Regions from separate parts of the Homo sapiens genome. Here region 2 is linked to region 1. Evidence: promoter capture Hi-C in 16 types of primary human blood cells and fetal thymus (Javierre and others, 2016). All regions are on one chromosome and are shown on one strand. The core of a region is centred on a gene start or on the middle of the fragment in contact, and the rest is flanking DNA. Distances in the headings are between cores, read along the strand shown. Region 1 holds the start of ASPN (asporin). Region 2 overlaps CENPP (centromere protein P).

Region 1 (7,271 bases), core at 3,513-6,012:
CAAGGAGTCCTGGTTCCCTTAGTGGGAAACAGTATTTAGAAACACAGATCTGGAAACCAGATGTGCTCACTGCTCTCAGGTCTGCTCAGTGGAAAGAGGTAAGAAATTTATTTAAAACAAAACCATTACTTGTACAGATTCCTCAAAGCAAACTGACTTCAGACATTCATTAAAAATATTTGACACAGCTGGGTGTGGTGGTGCACACCTGTAATCCTAGCGCTTTGGGAGGCCGAGGCGAGCAGATCACCTGAGGTCAGGAGCTCCAGACCAGCCTGGCCAACATGGCAAAACCCCATCTCTGCTAAAAATACAAAAATTAGCCAGGCGTGGTGGCCTGCACCTGTAATCCCAGCTACTCAGGAGGCTGAGGCAGGAGAATTGCTTAAACCCAGGAGGTGGAGGTTGCAGTGAGCTGAGATTGTGCCACTGCCCTCCAGCCTGGGTGACAGAGCAAGACTCCGTCTCAAAAAAAAAAAAAAAAATTGACACATGCAAAATATAATAAACAAAATTGTATAAGTCCTTCATTTTTCATAAATTCAACGGAATGAACATTTAGTGACAATTTATTATAATTCATTTTTCAGAACTAGAAACTTCAAGTAGGATGACAGAGTGAGCTCAGCCACATGACACAGCAGAAGCCAGTCCCTGCAACAGGAAGAGCTGTGAGGAGAGGGTAAGAGGAGGTCAGGGCAGCAGAGAACCATGGAGGGCCTACGTGCTCAGCAAATTGCTGCTACATAGGACATCAGGGTCAGTTTTTCCAGCTCATATTTTTCCAAATACATTGTAAATTTGGACTTCGATATCAAATGTCCTGGTTTTTAAAAATACTATATGCTCCAAACAATCTGCATGTTGAATACTGCCCCTGGGTCACAACCTACAGTATAAAATAAGTTCATTAGAAACCGAAGTGCCTAGTCCACCATGAGGGACACTTGAACATTAAAACTCATGAAATCTTAATCACTTATCCCTTCACAGAAGCTTTTTTAAGCATCTACTATACAAAAAACCCTATGTTATGCATATTTACATCCTAGAATTCAGTGGCCTAGAACATTCTTAAAGTGGGTGTTTGCATGGCACGGCTAACTCCCTCACAGCCCTCAGGTCTTGTGACTGTCACCTGACAGGGAGGGCACCCTTGACACCCCCACCCCTATCCTGCTTCTCTCCATAGCACTTACACTATTTGTTGAATGAATGGATTGGTGGACGGCCTTTCTTGTAGCTACTACTATAAAAGAACATTGTACAATCTATTCCAATTCATTTAGAATGTGAAGGACACCACAGACTGGCAAAAGAACATCAGAAAATTCAAACTGCCTACTTTTTTGGCAGGTGTGTGTGTGCCCCACAATATACTCCTGACACATGCTGCTCCTATAGCTCCTGCCTCACCTATCAAACCTTTTCATTTGGGCTGTGTGCAGGTGGTTCCCACCTGTAATCTCAGCACTTTGGGGGGCCGAGATGGGAGGATTGCTTTAGCCCAGGAGTTTGAGGTATGATTGTACCACTGCACTCCAGCATGGGTGACAGAGTGAGACTCTGTCAATCAATCAATCTTTTATTTGCATGAGACAGTTTCCAAGGTCCTCCCCTGTTCTTATTTGTGTTTGGACTTTGACCACTGTTGTCCATGTCTAGACCAGGAGAAGTTCTAGAAAGGGTGTGAGAAATCATACGAGAGCTTAGATTAGGCAATTTATTTTTATTTTCACGATGGTTAGCATATATAAGGCCAAAGGAAAATAAATTTGCATTAAAGTTCCTTTTATGGCAATCAATATTTTTATTCATAAACTGTCAGTACTGAGAATATTACTTTTTCAATTTTGTAATTTATCTTTGTGTTTGCAACATGTAAATTACTTGTGATTCCTAAATATACTGTTATAATGCAACTAGTTCTTCAATATTTAGACTAAGGCTCAATGAGGCAAAAATAAAACAATTTAAAAAGCATGGAGAAAAGAACTAGGTCCCCTCCATAGGACCCCTTTAGGAAACAAAAATGGAAGATTTTTCTCTTCACAATACTTGAGGGAAGAAGAGGTACACTGTTTCATTTGGAATGATAACCTGGAAAAGGGTGGAGATAAACTCCAGTTTCTTCCCAGATGGCACGTTCGTGCCTGCTGCACCATCTCTGGCAAATGTGAGGCAAAGCTTTCCATGTCACAGCCCCAAGATGGTGGAGGGTTGTGCCTGAGGCCTGCACCTTTACCACATTATCTGCAGAACAGAGTGAATAAGCCAAATATACTACCCCTAACCCCAGCATCTTATTCCAGGGCCTATTTCTTTCCCTAGGCCCTCTGACCAAAGATCGAAGCAAAATATCAGAGGAAGACTAGCTTAAGTCTCACAGTGGGGAGAAGGAAAAGTAGCTGTAACATATCTTTAGAAACACAATCTTACAGGAACTGCCTCTCAACTCTCTAGATATGGGAGGCAAAACTGCACCCAGAAAGGCCATGCAGGCAACTCGACTGAGGAGTGCCTTGGGTGGGTGACGTGGACAACATCCTGTGAGTATAGAAGAGAAAAACACAAGTCCCAGAGACAACAGTTGCCATGCAAAACCAGAAATCACAGACTGGGAAAGCCTAATTTTTAAAGAGAAGTTGAAATCTTATTTTTAAATACAGCAATTTCACCTAACAAAAATACATACACATGACCCCCAAATGACAGACTGAGGAACGTTCATAGTACCTCTCCAAAAGGTAATTAATCTAGTTGAATATATAAACAATTTGTGGCTTATTCATGTATGAGAATACTATACAGTGACAAGAATGAACTACTGTGTATCACAATGACACGAATGGATCTCAAAAGCATGTCACTGAATGAAAAAAGCCAGATGCAAAAGAGAATGCACAGTATGATTCCATTTATATAAAGTTCAGGAAATAACCTATGGTGCTGAACTCAGGCTGTGACTTGAGGAGTAAGAGGAGGGATTCTGGATGTATGAGAATGGAGTGTGAGGCTGGGATTTCTTGATTGGGGTCATTTTGTAAAAATTAATTGAGTTGTACCATTATGATATGTTTTTTTTTGGTAACATACACTTCAATAAACAGTTCAGAAACAAAACATTGTGCAGGACAAACTGAATTTGACCCAAGGGCTTCCTGTTTATGACTGTGTTCTGAAGGAATTTAGGCAAACACTAGATGCTCTGGATACAAAGATTTTAAAAATCCAGTTCATATTTTCATTATGTTCCCAATTCATCCAGTTAACAGATACATTTGCAACTGAAATATACTTGAATAAATGAGAATATGAGCATTCTAAACCAAACAGGAGGGCCGTCATTCCCTAAGGTGCTGCAGGGCTAGGATGGGGCCTGAGTTACAGAGGGCCACTAATGGGACTACCGAGCTGCCTGGAACTGTCAGCCTAGAGGTCCAAGGAGGAGTACTTTATTTAAGTGAGGGGAGGATGAACACATAGCCAGCTGCTATGCACATCTGAGGCACATGTATTCTTTAGGACTGTAGCTGCCTTGCTTAACACAATGTGTGCCATTTCTCTGGAGAGAGGGAACAAACGATGGTCAGACTCTTGATGACAGTAGAGAACAGGTCTTCTAACCCACTGGAAAAGCTCTTTGCTGGCCTCCAAATCTATACAACAGTTGGGAAGAACCATTGGGGTCACTTACAACAGTAAGTCCTTGCCACTAGGGTTAGAAAACTGTCCTCTCAGGCCGGCCATGGTGGCTCATGCCTGTAATCCCAGCACTTTGGGAGGCCGAGGCGGGCAGATCACGAGGTCAGGAGATCGAGACCATCCTGGCTAACACAATGAAACACTGTCTCTATTAAAAAACCAAAAAATTAGCCAGGCGTGGTGGCGGGCGCCTGCAGTCCCAGCTACTCGGGAGGCTGAGGCAGGAGAATGGCGTGAACCTGGGAGGCAGAGCTTGCAGTAAGCCAAGATTGCGCCACCGCACTCCAGCCTGGGTGACAGAGTGAGACTCCGTCTCAAAAAAAAAAAAAAGAAAACTGTCCTCTCTTGAAGGTCTTAGTTGATGTAGAATTGGGCAGTCTCTTGGGGATGAGTGGAAAGGGGGTACAAATAATGATTTATTTTCAGGAAATAGCATCTTCCCTGCTCTAAGTCTCCCTAAATGTCAGTGAGGCCATAGCTAATATTCTCTTGAAAAGGGAAAGTTGTATGCATCCTAAGAGGGTGTTACTTGGACATGCATGTGTGTCTGTGTTATATCACATATGTTGAGTCCAGGGAGCAGTTCATGGAGCCTCATCCATAGTTTCCCTGACATGCTATAGCAGTGCTAAAAGCTTAAAAAAAAAAAAAAGTCTGGAGAAGTATGCATAATGCAATAGCTACAGTCATTAGAAGAAAAAAAAAGTATGGTTCTTTCTCAGGTACATCTGAAGTTTGGGTATATACTTCAGTAATGTTGGTATCCTTTATTCAGATTGATAAATATTTTATTAGTCTATACAGGTTGAGTAATTTTTGAAATTGTAATTTACAAATATTCATTCACTTAAGAATCTAATATTTTTAAAACTAGGTATTTCTTGAATGACTCCGACTGCACTTTCAATGGCCAGTTGCCATGCATTATTAAACTTTCTTTTTTTTTCTTCTTCAGAATCTTCCAGTAGACGTCTAGAGTTTAGCTAGAAGTCTTGGCTACGATACAAACAGTGATGGAAAACACATGAGCAGTAACAAGTTTTAATCTTGCTCCTCAGTACTAACATGGACTAATCTGTGGGAGCAGTTTATTCCAGTATCACCCAGGGTGCAGCCACACCAGGACTGTGTTGAAGGGTGTTTTTTTTCTTTTAAATGTAATACCTCCTCATCTTTTCTTCTTACACAGTGTCTGAGAACATTTACATTATAGATAAGTAGTACATGGTGGATAACTTCTACTTTTAGGAGGACTACTCTCTTCTGACAGGTATGTTTCATGTCTATCTTACAAGTATCGATGTATACTTTACAGTCAATACTAAGGAGACATTAATGTTATTAATAAATGCTTATAAATAATAGGATAAAGTCCAAAGTTTATCTCTATAATTTCTTAAAAATCAGCATTTAAATACAAACCTAAATTTGTACCTAAAATTATTCTAGTTTTATGTCTTACCTATAATGAATGTATTTTAAATATAATTATGTGACTTTTTTTTTCAGCTAAGTGAAAACCTGTCATTATGCCTTACCATAAATGTTAACATGATTGATTTTAAAAGTCATCTAAATAAACATCTTGTATGTTTATCTAGGAAAATAACATTGCTATAATAATGATCATGAAGTTTGGGGATATCACAGCTATATTAAATGAAACAGTAAATATATTTTTCAATATTTAAAATATTTTCTAATGTGTATTTAAAATGTGTGAATTACTGAAATGTCAATTTTACTTATACATTTGAATATTCATTTTTTTCCTTGATAAATGTCTTCCTTATTATAATGAAATGGCACTGAAAAGTTCAAATGGAAATCTATTCAATTCCAAGAAAGAATACTTATCAGCAATAGTTTAGCTAGCACTATATTCAATATGAAAGATTAGGAAATTTTCACAGCATGTATACAGTCAGAATTTAACACTTTCAAAGATTTCCTTTGTCTACTCCCAAAGTAAATTTCTGATTAAATTTTAGATTAAAAAATTTAAGCAATGTATTCAATATTCTACTCCCTAGTAATCTAAATAGCGCACAGCATTCTTTCATGTTAATCTATTCAGAGGTGTGGCACCCAGGAAACAGTGGCCACATGGTGTAGGGACTGAGTCATAAAGAACCTGAGGGGGTTGTATTTCCCTAAAAATAAAGTTGTTTAAATCCAAGAATCAAGCTGTTAAAAGAAAGAAATGAAAAAAGAAAGAAAAATCGAGCACAAGCCCACACACATAAAAGGATCCTGATGTTTTTAGTTTGTTTTTTGGCATTAAGGAGTATAGTGTAGTAGTGGAAAGAACAGAGGATATATAGTCTTCTGTTACAACTAACTACTCAATTAAAAACAAATATTCTGATAACTGATCTGAGGTTTGAGACAAAAACAATTAACTTTACAAGCACAAGTCTTGAGGCACTGTGGGAAACATCATAAAAATGGAGAGGCAGTAGATTTTGTTTTTTAAGACAGTAGCTTGATTGCTAGACATGTGGAGAAATTAATGAAGGGCAAAATTAGTATAAAAGGAAGAACAGCTAGAATGCTTTGTCAGAATGCTAGTTATACTTCTAAGGTAAAATTAACTACTTTTTAAGGAAAGTGCTATCTTTATCAGTATCCATGAACAAATGGTACTGTGAATAAGTTTCCAAATGCATGTTGGACTTTTAACTCATTTGTTAGCTTACAAGACTATGCCTTGATTACATCTGAATTTGGTTTGGATTCCTTCGGTGAAATATATGGAGTATGTTATATCACATTTATATGCTGAAATCTGCTACTGGTACCTGTGAACTGATAGGCATGTTTAAACCCAGGGGAAAAGTTGCCAAGCGGGCCTTTAAACATGGGATTTAAAAGCACAGTGACTTATTTACCTAATAATAGTGTCTGAGAGGAAATACCATTTCACTTAGATAAACTTTCTAAGTTTGTAGACCAGTTAAATGGAAACAAGAAAGCTTATGTGCTTCTTAAGCTTTATTTCCAGTCCATATGTTATGAACTCTTTTAAGAACTTGGCCAAACCTCCTTACCTAGGCTTTTCCAGAGGAAAGTCTGTTTACTGTCTGGAAGTAACTATGAGATTAAAATCCATTTAGGAGGACATGCAGTCTAGTGCAAAGCACAACCAACAAGCAGTGAGGAAGCCAGCCCTCAGCTCCACCACCTCCAGCCAGTTCTGGACGCTCACTGCCTCTGCTTTTTCTCAGTAAAAGAGGGCCATGGGGGGAAAGTCTCAAAGACCTCTCTTAGCTCTAGGCTACTATGATTTATTAGTAATAGCAGTAGCACTGGAAGAATACTCCAAACACTACTCTGATTAAGAGAGACTTGAAACCAAAATCCAAAGCTTTCCATGAGTGGAAAACACTGGCAAAACTGGTCTAAATCAGGGAAATATTGAGTATTCCTGAGAAGAAGATTTAATATTTTTAAAGGGTTTAAAAATAGAGTAACCTGAATACTGCCAAAACTAATAAAACAGAGGTTGTACCTCATTAATAAACTCAAAATAAAACAGCCAAAAGTCATATCATTTTAAATGACAT
Region 2 (7,271 bases), core at 2,252-4,751, 100 kb before region 1:
TAATTTCTGTCTCCTTATTGATATCTCATTTTGTTCATACTTTGTTTTCCTGTTTTTTTCTTTTTTCTCTGAGCATATTTAGGACAGTTGTTCATTAAAAGTGTTTGTCTAGTAAGTCCAATTCTGGGTTTCCTCAGAGATGATTTCTGTCATTCCCATGTGCCCCCGCCCCCGCCCCCACCAAATGGGACATTCTTTCCTGTTTCTTTCTATGCCCTGTCTTTTTCTTGTTGTTGAACACCAGGTATTTTGAATACCAGAATGCAGTGATTCTAGGAACCAAATTCTCCCGTCCTCAGGGTTTGCTGTTGTTGATTGCTGAGGGCTGCAGTTGTCTGCTTAACAACTTTTCCAAACCATTTGCACAGACTGTATTCCTGCTTGTGTGTGGTCAGTGAAGTCTTTGTTACAATATCTCATTGGTAAGCCAGTGACCTGATGGAGATTTCCTTAGATGTCTGGAGATCAAAGAAAATAAAAAAAAAAATGATTCTCCCAGTCTTTCCACTTTGGCTCTGAGAGGGGCACTCCCTTAAAGCTATGGCAGCCTGCCTACAACTCTGCCTTAGCCCTCACCCCTTACTTGCTCCAGCAGAGGTGCAAAGCTAGTCTCCTCTTAGGTCTTTTCTGAGTATGTATCCAATACCGGGCACGTATATTGTACTCTTTTTTCCCCTGGTATATGCATGGTCCTTCCAAGCCCTCTGTTCCCCAAGAAACTTCCCCCAGCCTCCTCCTTCGAGGGTTTTTGGATTTGTCTGCTGCTTGCTCTGTCCACCATCCCTTGCCCCAGGCAGGCAGGGGTAGTACATGACTTTAAATCTTTCTACAGGCTGGGCGCGGTGGCTCATGCCTGTAATCCCAGCACTTTGGGAGGTCAAGGCTGGCGGATCACCTTAGGTCACAAGTTTGAGAACAGCCTGGCCAACATGGCGAAACCCTGTCTCTACTAAAAGTACAAAATTAGCCGGGCATGGTGGTGCATGCCTGTAGTCCCAGCTACTTGGGAGGCTGAGGCAGGAGAATCGTCTGAAACCGGGAGGCGGAGGTTGCAGTGAGCCGAGATTGCGCCATTGCGCTCCAGCCTGGGCGACAAGAGCGAAACGCTGTCTCAAAAAGAGAAAAAAAAAATTTCTACAGATGCTACCACTTCCCAGAAAGCTACTCCAACTCATGAGGGGGTGGTGGGACAAAGGTCAGCCTCTGCACCAGTCCCTTCAGGAACCAGCAGACAGGTCAGAATGAACAACCACAGTTTTTAAAGAAGGTCTATATTCATCCCTTTGTACCAAGCAAGCTACACCAAGAACATGGGCTGCTATCGTCACAGCCGCCCCTTCTGTGCTAGGGAAGGATAGATGATAGCCTAGTGAAAACACCATAATATTGATACTTTCACTGGAATTCATAGGCCTTCTCCTCACCAAGCACTTGCCCAGTCGTTGCAAGTGTTCTGAAAGTTCTGAAAGTTTATTCTGTCAATTTTAGATTCCAGAGTTCCGAAAGTTTATACTGTCAATTTTTGGCAGTTTATGGTGGTTTCAGAGGAGATACTGATTCTTTGAGAGCCCTACTCTCCCATTTTCTTTGGTTTGGCAGTTTCTTAAACTGTAAACATAAGCTTGCCATACAACCAGTAATTCCACTCCTAGAAATCTAACGATGAGAAATGAAATCAAGTCCATACAAAGACTTGCACATGAACGTTCACAGCAGCTTTATTTGGTACAGACAAACAAATTCTAACCACTCAAATTCTCATCAACTGGTGAATGGATAGTCAACTATCAAAAATGGAGCCAGACTTTTGATTCTCTATCATTTACAAATCTCCAAAACTATCCTCCTTAAACATGAGTGATTTCATGTCACTATCCCCCCTCAAAAATATAAACTGATTTTTTAAGAGCCTAGAATGAAGACTATATTTCTAAAATGTGGTACTCAAGGCCCTCTGTAACATTTCTCCAAACTTACTTTCTAGCCTTTGCTTCTAATATTACAGCCCAGTCCTAGTGAGCAGTCTTCCTTCAGGCATCACCTGTAAACATTCTTGTCATTCTACTCAAATGCCATCTCTTCAGGAAATCTCCCTGCTTCCTCTACTATATTCCCATATAATCTGTATAGTATAGCAATCACTTGTGGTTACAGTTAGGTGTATATATTTGTTGCTTCAACTAAATACTGAAGCACTGAAACAACTATATAACATGCAATTTGTTACTGCTAGCATAATACATGGGTGCATAATAGGTGCTTGACAAACATTTGCTGAATTCATGAATGTACGAATGTACATGACCTACAAATGAAAAAGCTAAACAAAATGTAAAAGGAATTAATGAAACTGGGAATTATGGAAGAATAATTGAGAAATAAATTTAAACAAGAAAGGAAAAATAGGGAAATTTTTATATAGATGTTTTAATTTAAAGACTCTAGAGCTTTAGGGAAGACACTTGGCCCAAGACAGAAGCAACTACTGCAGTTCCTCACACATAACAGCCTGTTGAATGAACAATACAACTAACTGGTTAAAACGAACTTACAGCCAGGCATATCCCAGCACTTTGGGAGGCTGAGGTGGGAGGGTGGCTTGAGCCCAAGAGTTCAAGACCAGTCATAGTGAGACCCCGTCTCTTAAAAAAATGTAAAACTTAGCCAGGCATGGTGACGCATACCTGTAGTCCTAGCTACTCTGAAAGCTAAGGTGGGAGGACTGTTTGAGCCTGGGAAGTCAAGGCTGCAGTGAGCCGTGATGGTGCCACTACACTCTAGCCTGGGTGATAGAGTAAGACCCTGTCTCAAACAAACAAACAAACATAGAAACAATAAAATAAACAAAACACTGAACACCTATCTGTGCCAATACTATGTGAAACACATACTTAGGCAAGACCCTCATCTGATTTTGGGAAGCAAAGAGTAAATGGGAAAAGCCAATGCATGCTGGGAGTCACTGCAGCCAGGGACTTGTTTGGAAAGTAATTTGTATTGCTGCAGATGGGAGTCATTTGAATGGTACCTCATGAAATGGGCCAGGCTGGGACTGGGGGATGGCTGGGGTGAGGTGTGGCCAGGTCCCTGACACATTCTGAGGAAGTGGAACTAATCCCAGTGTTTTCATTCAGCCTTTGGTTATATTTGACAGACAGCACAATGCTTGCATGGGGCTTGTAATGGTTCAAGAAACTGAACTAAGCAGAGCCATCAACTCATAGACAGAAAGCTTGGTTTTTGCTACATGCCCAACCATTGCTAATACTCTTTTCCAAAGACATAGAGAAGTAATTTTCAGTATGCAAACATTTAAATTTTACCTTTGCTGTTCTGAATTATAGATACCAAATGGCATACCACCATAAACAGATGATGGCACAGCTCTTCCAGCTAGCATGCTGGTGATTTCATAGTGAAAATATTGTTTGTTTCACTAAAGCCTGCTTGAAAATTTTGAAAGCAAAACAACTCTTATCCACTGAGGACTATGCCTAAGTATAGCTAATGGTTTTAATCTACCCTCCAAAAAAGAAGAAAAAAAAAACCCCACTCCTCTGTAATTTAAGCACATATTCAGAAAAAAATGCTAAGAATGAAATAAAGCACCCATAATCTTTGAACCTCATATATTAGTTTAAGAATGATACTTGTGAGATAGAGTTAAAACCTACAAGATTCCTGTAAGCATTTACAAATATGCTATAAGTGAATGAAACAGAAAATAATCAAACCAATACATACCGACAGATTAATAGGTACAAAGCTTGCACTAGGTTACACAGTAAAGCAGTCCAACAATACAAAGGATGTTCTCTTCAGGAAGTAAAGATAAATGCATGTTGACTGAATAAAGTTATATTAAACACTAACTTTTCTGTTTGTTACAAAGGCTTTTTATAGGGTAGTCTACATGAATATTCTTCTGCTGAATATGTTTAACTCTATACTAGTGTATATCACCACCACCCAGCCATGCTTGTACAATTTGATCTTGATCCCACAGATAATAATTGATGAGACCAAGGATGGACACATGACCCAAGACGACCCAATCAGACTGTCTTGGAGAAACTTCACATTGAGAATCCGACCACCAGTCTGGGAAGTTGCTTAAACTGAAGACATATAGATGCATCATTTTGCCATGTGCCTGTCAAACACAGTGAAAGCTGTTCTGCAGAAGACAACACCTTTTGGGAGAGGAGAGTAAAGTAGACTTACAGAAAGTGGTGAGGCTAAGAGAACACAAGACCTCAGAAAAAGAAAGCAAGATAGAGAATCTGAAGACTCGGTGGGCCACAAGAGTATCCCCATTCCTCTTCCCAGGCCCTAGGGAGTCGTTCTACTCTTCCTGCCCTTTGAGAGCAGGATATTCTTCAGTGCCCTTCCAATACATTCCCTTGCGTACTAGGGCTTATTTGAAGTGTTGTTTCTATTACTTGCCACCAAAAAGAATCTTAACAATACAACAGTCCCCTTTTTCTATTCCATTACATAGTGACAATGAGGAATATGGAATGGGGTTGGGTGTCTTTTTTTTTTTTCCAGAAAGGACACCGTTATTGAACACAGATAATAAAAGAGAGGGCAGAATCAGGCTCCACATTATTTTTTCTTTACCTTTTGTCAATCTCCAGGGCCCTAAGCAATTATTTTAGTGAATTTTTCAGTTTTACACTTGTTATCTTGGGAAGAGGATCACTGACCTCTTCATTCTGTTCTATCTGGATGTCCCACAATTGACTTTTTAAATTGTTTTAAAATTATTTTTTTCCTTTTTGCTTTCTTTATCAGCTTTTTAAAACTGTGTCTTTGGGCCAGGTGTGGTAGTTCATGCCTGTAATGCCAGCACTTTGGCAGGCCAAGGCAGGCAGGTCACCTGAGCTCAGGAGTTCGAGACCAGCCTGGGCAACACGGCAAAACCCCAACTTTACAAAAAAAATACAAAAAAATTAGCCGGGCATGGTGGCATGTGCCTGTAGTCTCAGCTACTTGGGAGGCGGAGGTGGGAGGATTACTTGAGCCCAGGAGGTTGAGGCTTCAGTGAGCCAAGATCATGCCACTGCACTCCAGCCTGAGTGACAAAGGGAGATCCTGTCTCAAAACAAAACAAAACAAAACAAAACAAAACAAAACAAAACACCACCAAGTGTTTTTCCCCTGTGTTAGCTGAAAAGTCACATACCTTATTTTTGTTAAGGGGTTACCTTAGACATTTTATCATCTATACTCATCAAAGTCTAAACAAATGGATGTCTCAGTCCTCCTCTTGAACACAAGAATTCAGAACATTTTAATTTCAAGCAACCTTGTATTACTGTGTATTTTTGAATGCTAGCTTAAAAAGCCTCTCATATGACATCATTATGATTATGTTATACAGTCACTGTTTGACATATTTACCTTATTCTTTGCTTTTTATTCCTTCTTGCACCTCAAACCTTCCTTCTTGGATCATTTTCCTTCTACTTGGAGATGATCCTTTCATTCTAAAATGTGTGTCTATTGGAGGTAAATTCTCTCAGTTTCTATTTAATCTAACATTCTCTTTATTTCACTTTCATTCTGAAAGACAGTATTTGCTGGGTATAGGAAGTATGCTATTATTTTCTCTGAGAGTAACGAAGCTACCACTGCTTCCTGGTTTCCATTGCTGCTGTTGAAGGATCAGAGTTTGCCAATATAGCCAATCCATTCCTTTGGATGCTTCAAAGATCTTCGTTTCATCTTTGGTCACTGCAGTTCCATTAAATTATATTTAGGTGTGAGTTTCTTTATATATATATATTTTGGATCTTATTTGGTTTCTTGACACAGATTTTTATAATGCATAAACTATAATGTATGTCTTATAGAATGCAGAAAAAAACACAAAATGTAATATGGCTTAACAGAATCTTGCCAACACCCCAGAAGTACCCTGGCATTCCTCTTCCCCATCATATACCTCTCGTTTTCTGCTAAAGTAGTAAGTATCTTGATATTTATGTACTTATTTTTAAAAGACAGGGTCTCTCACAGTGCAATCAAACTAGAACTCAGGATTAAGAATCTCACTCAAAACCGCTCAACTACATGGAAACTGAACAACCTGCTCCTGAATGACTAATGGGTACATAACGAAATGAAGGCAGAAATAAAGATGTTCTTTGAAACCAACGAGAATAAAGACACAACATACCAGAATCTCTGGGACACATTCAAAGCAGTGTGTAGAGGGAAATTTATAGCACTAAATGCCCACAAGAGAAAGCAGGAAAGATCCAAAATTGACACCCTAACATCACAATTAAAAGAACTAGAAAAGCAAGAGCAAACACATTCAAAAGCTAGCAGAAGGCAAGAAATAACTAAAATCAGAGCAGAACTGAAGGAAATAGACACACAAAAAACCCTTCAAAAATTAACGAATCCAGGAGCTGGTTTTTTGAAAAGATCAACAAAATTGATAGACCGCTAGCAAGACTAATAAAGAAAAAAAGAGAGAAGAATCAAATAGATGCAATAAAAAATGATAAAGGGGATATCACCACCGATCCCACAGAAATACAAACTACCATCAGAGAATACTGCAAACACCTCTATGCAAATAAACTAGAAAATCTAGAAGAAATGGATAAATTCCTTGACACATACACTCTCCCAAGACTGAACCAGGAGGAAGTTGAATCTCTGAATAGACCAATAACAGGAGCTGAAATTGTGGCAATAATCAATAGCTTACCAACCAAAAAGAGTCCAGGACCAGATGGATTCACAGCCGAATTCTACCAGAGCTACAAGGAGGAACTGGTACCATTCCTTCTGAAACTATTCCAATCAACAGAAAAAGAGGGAATCCTCCCTAACTCTTTTTATGAGGCTAGCATCATCCTGATACCAAAGCCGGGCAGAGACACAACCAAAAAAGAGAATTTTAGACCAATATCCTTGATGAACATTGATGCAAAAATCCTCAATAAAATACTGGCAAACCGAATCCAGCAGCACATGAAAAAGCTTATCCACCATGATCAAGTGGGCTTCATCCCTGGGATGCAAGGCTGGTTCAATACAAGCAAATCAATAAATGTAATCCAGCATATAAACAGAACCAAAGACAAAAACCACATGATTATCTCAATAGATGCAGAAAAGGCCTTTGACAAAATTCAACAACCCTTCATGCTAAAAACTCTCAATAAATTAGGTATTGATGGGACGTATCTCAAAATAATAAGAGCTATCTATGACAAACCCACAGCCAATATCATACTGAATGGGCAAAA

The links. The method cuts DNA at HindIII sites, captures the fragments that hold promoters and counts their contacts. A CHiCAGO score of 5 or more calls a contact.
Region 2: a fragment that was not itself captured here is called in contact with the fragment with the promoter of ASPN in region 1 in 1 of 17 cell types (megakaryocytes); the score reaches 5.2 in megakaryocytes.

Annotation. Positions count from the first base shown.
Region 1 is chr9:92,479,997-92,487,267 of GRCh38, reverse strand. ASPN (asporin) reads left to right here and starts at 4,762. Exons shown (of 8, transcript NM_017680.6): 1 at 4,762-4,975. All of the region lies in intron 5 of CENPP (centromere protein P), which reads right to left. The HindIII fragment of the contact is 2,340 bases long and covers 4,343-6,682 here.
Region 2 is chr9:92,579,905-92,587,175 of GRCh38, reverse strand. All of the region lies in intron 5 of CENPP (centromere protein P), which reads right to left. Among named protein-coding and RNA genes, the nearest start is that of ECM2, 48 kb to the right of the region's middle. The HindIII fragment of the contact is 534 bases long and covers 3,235-3,768 here.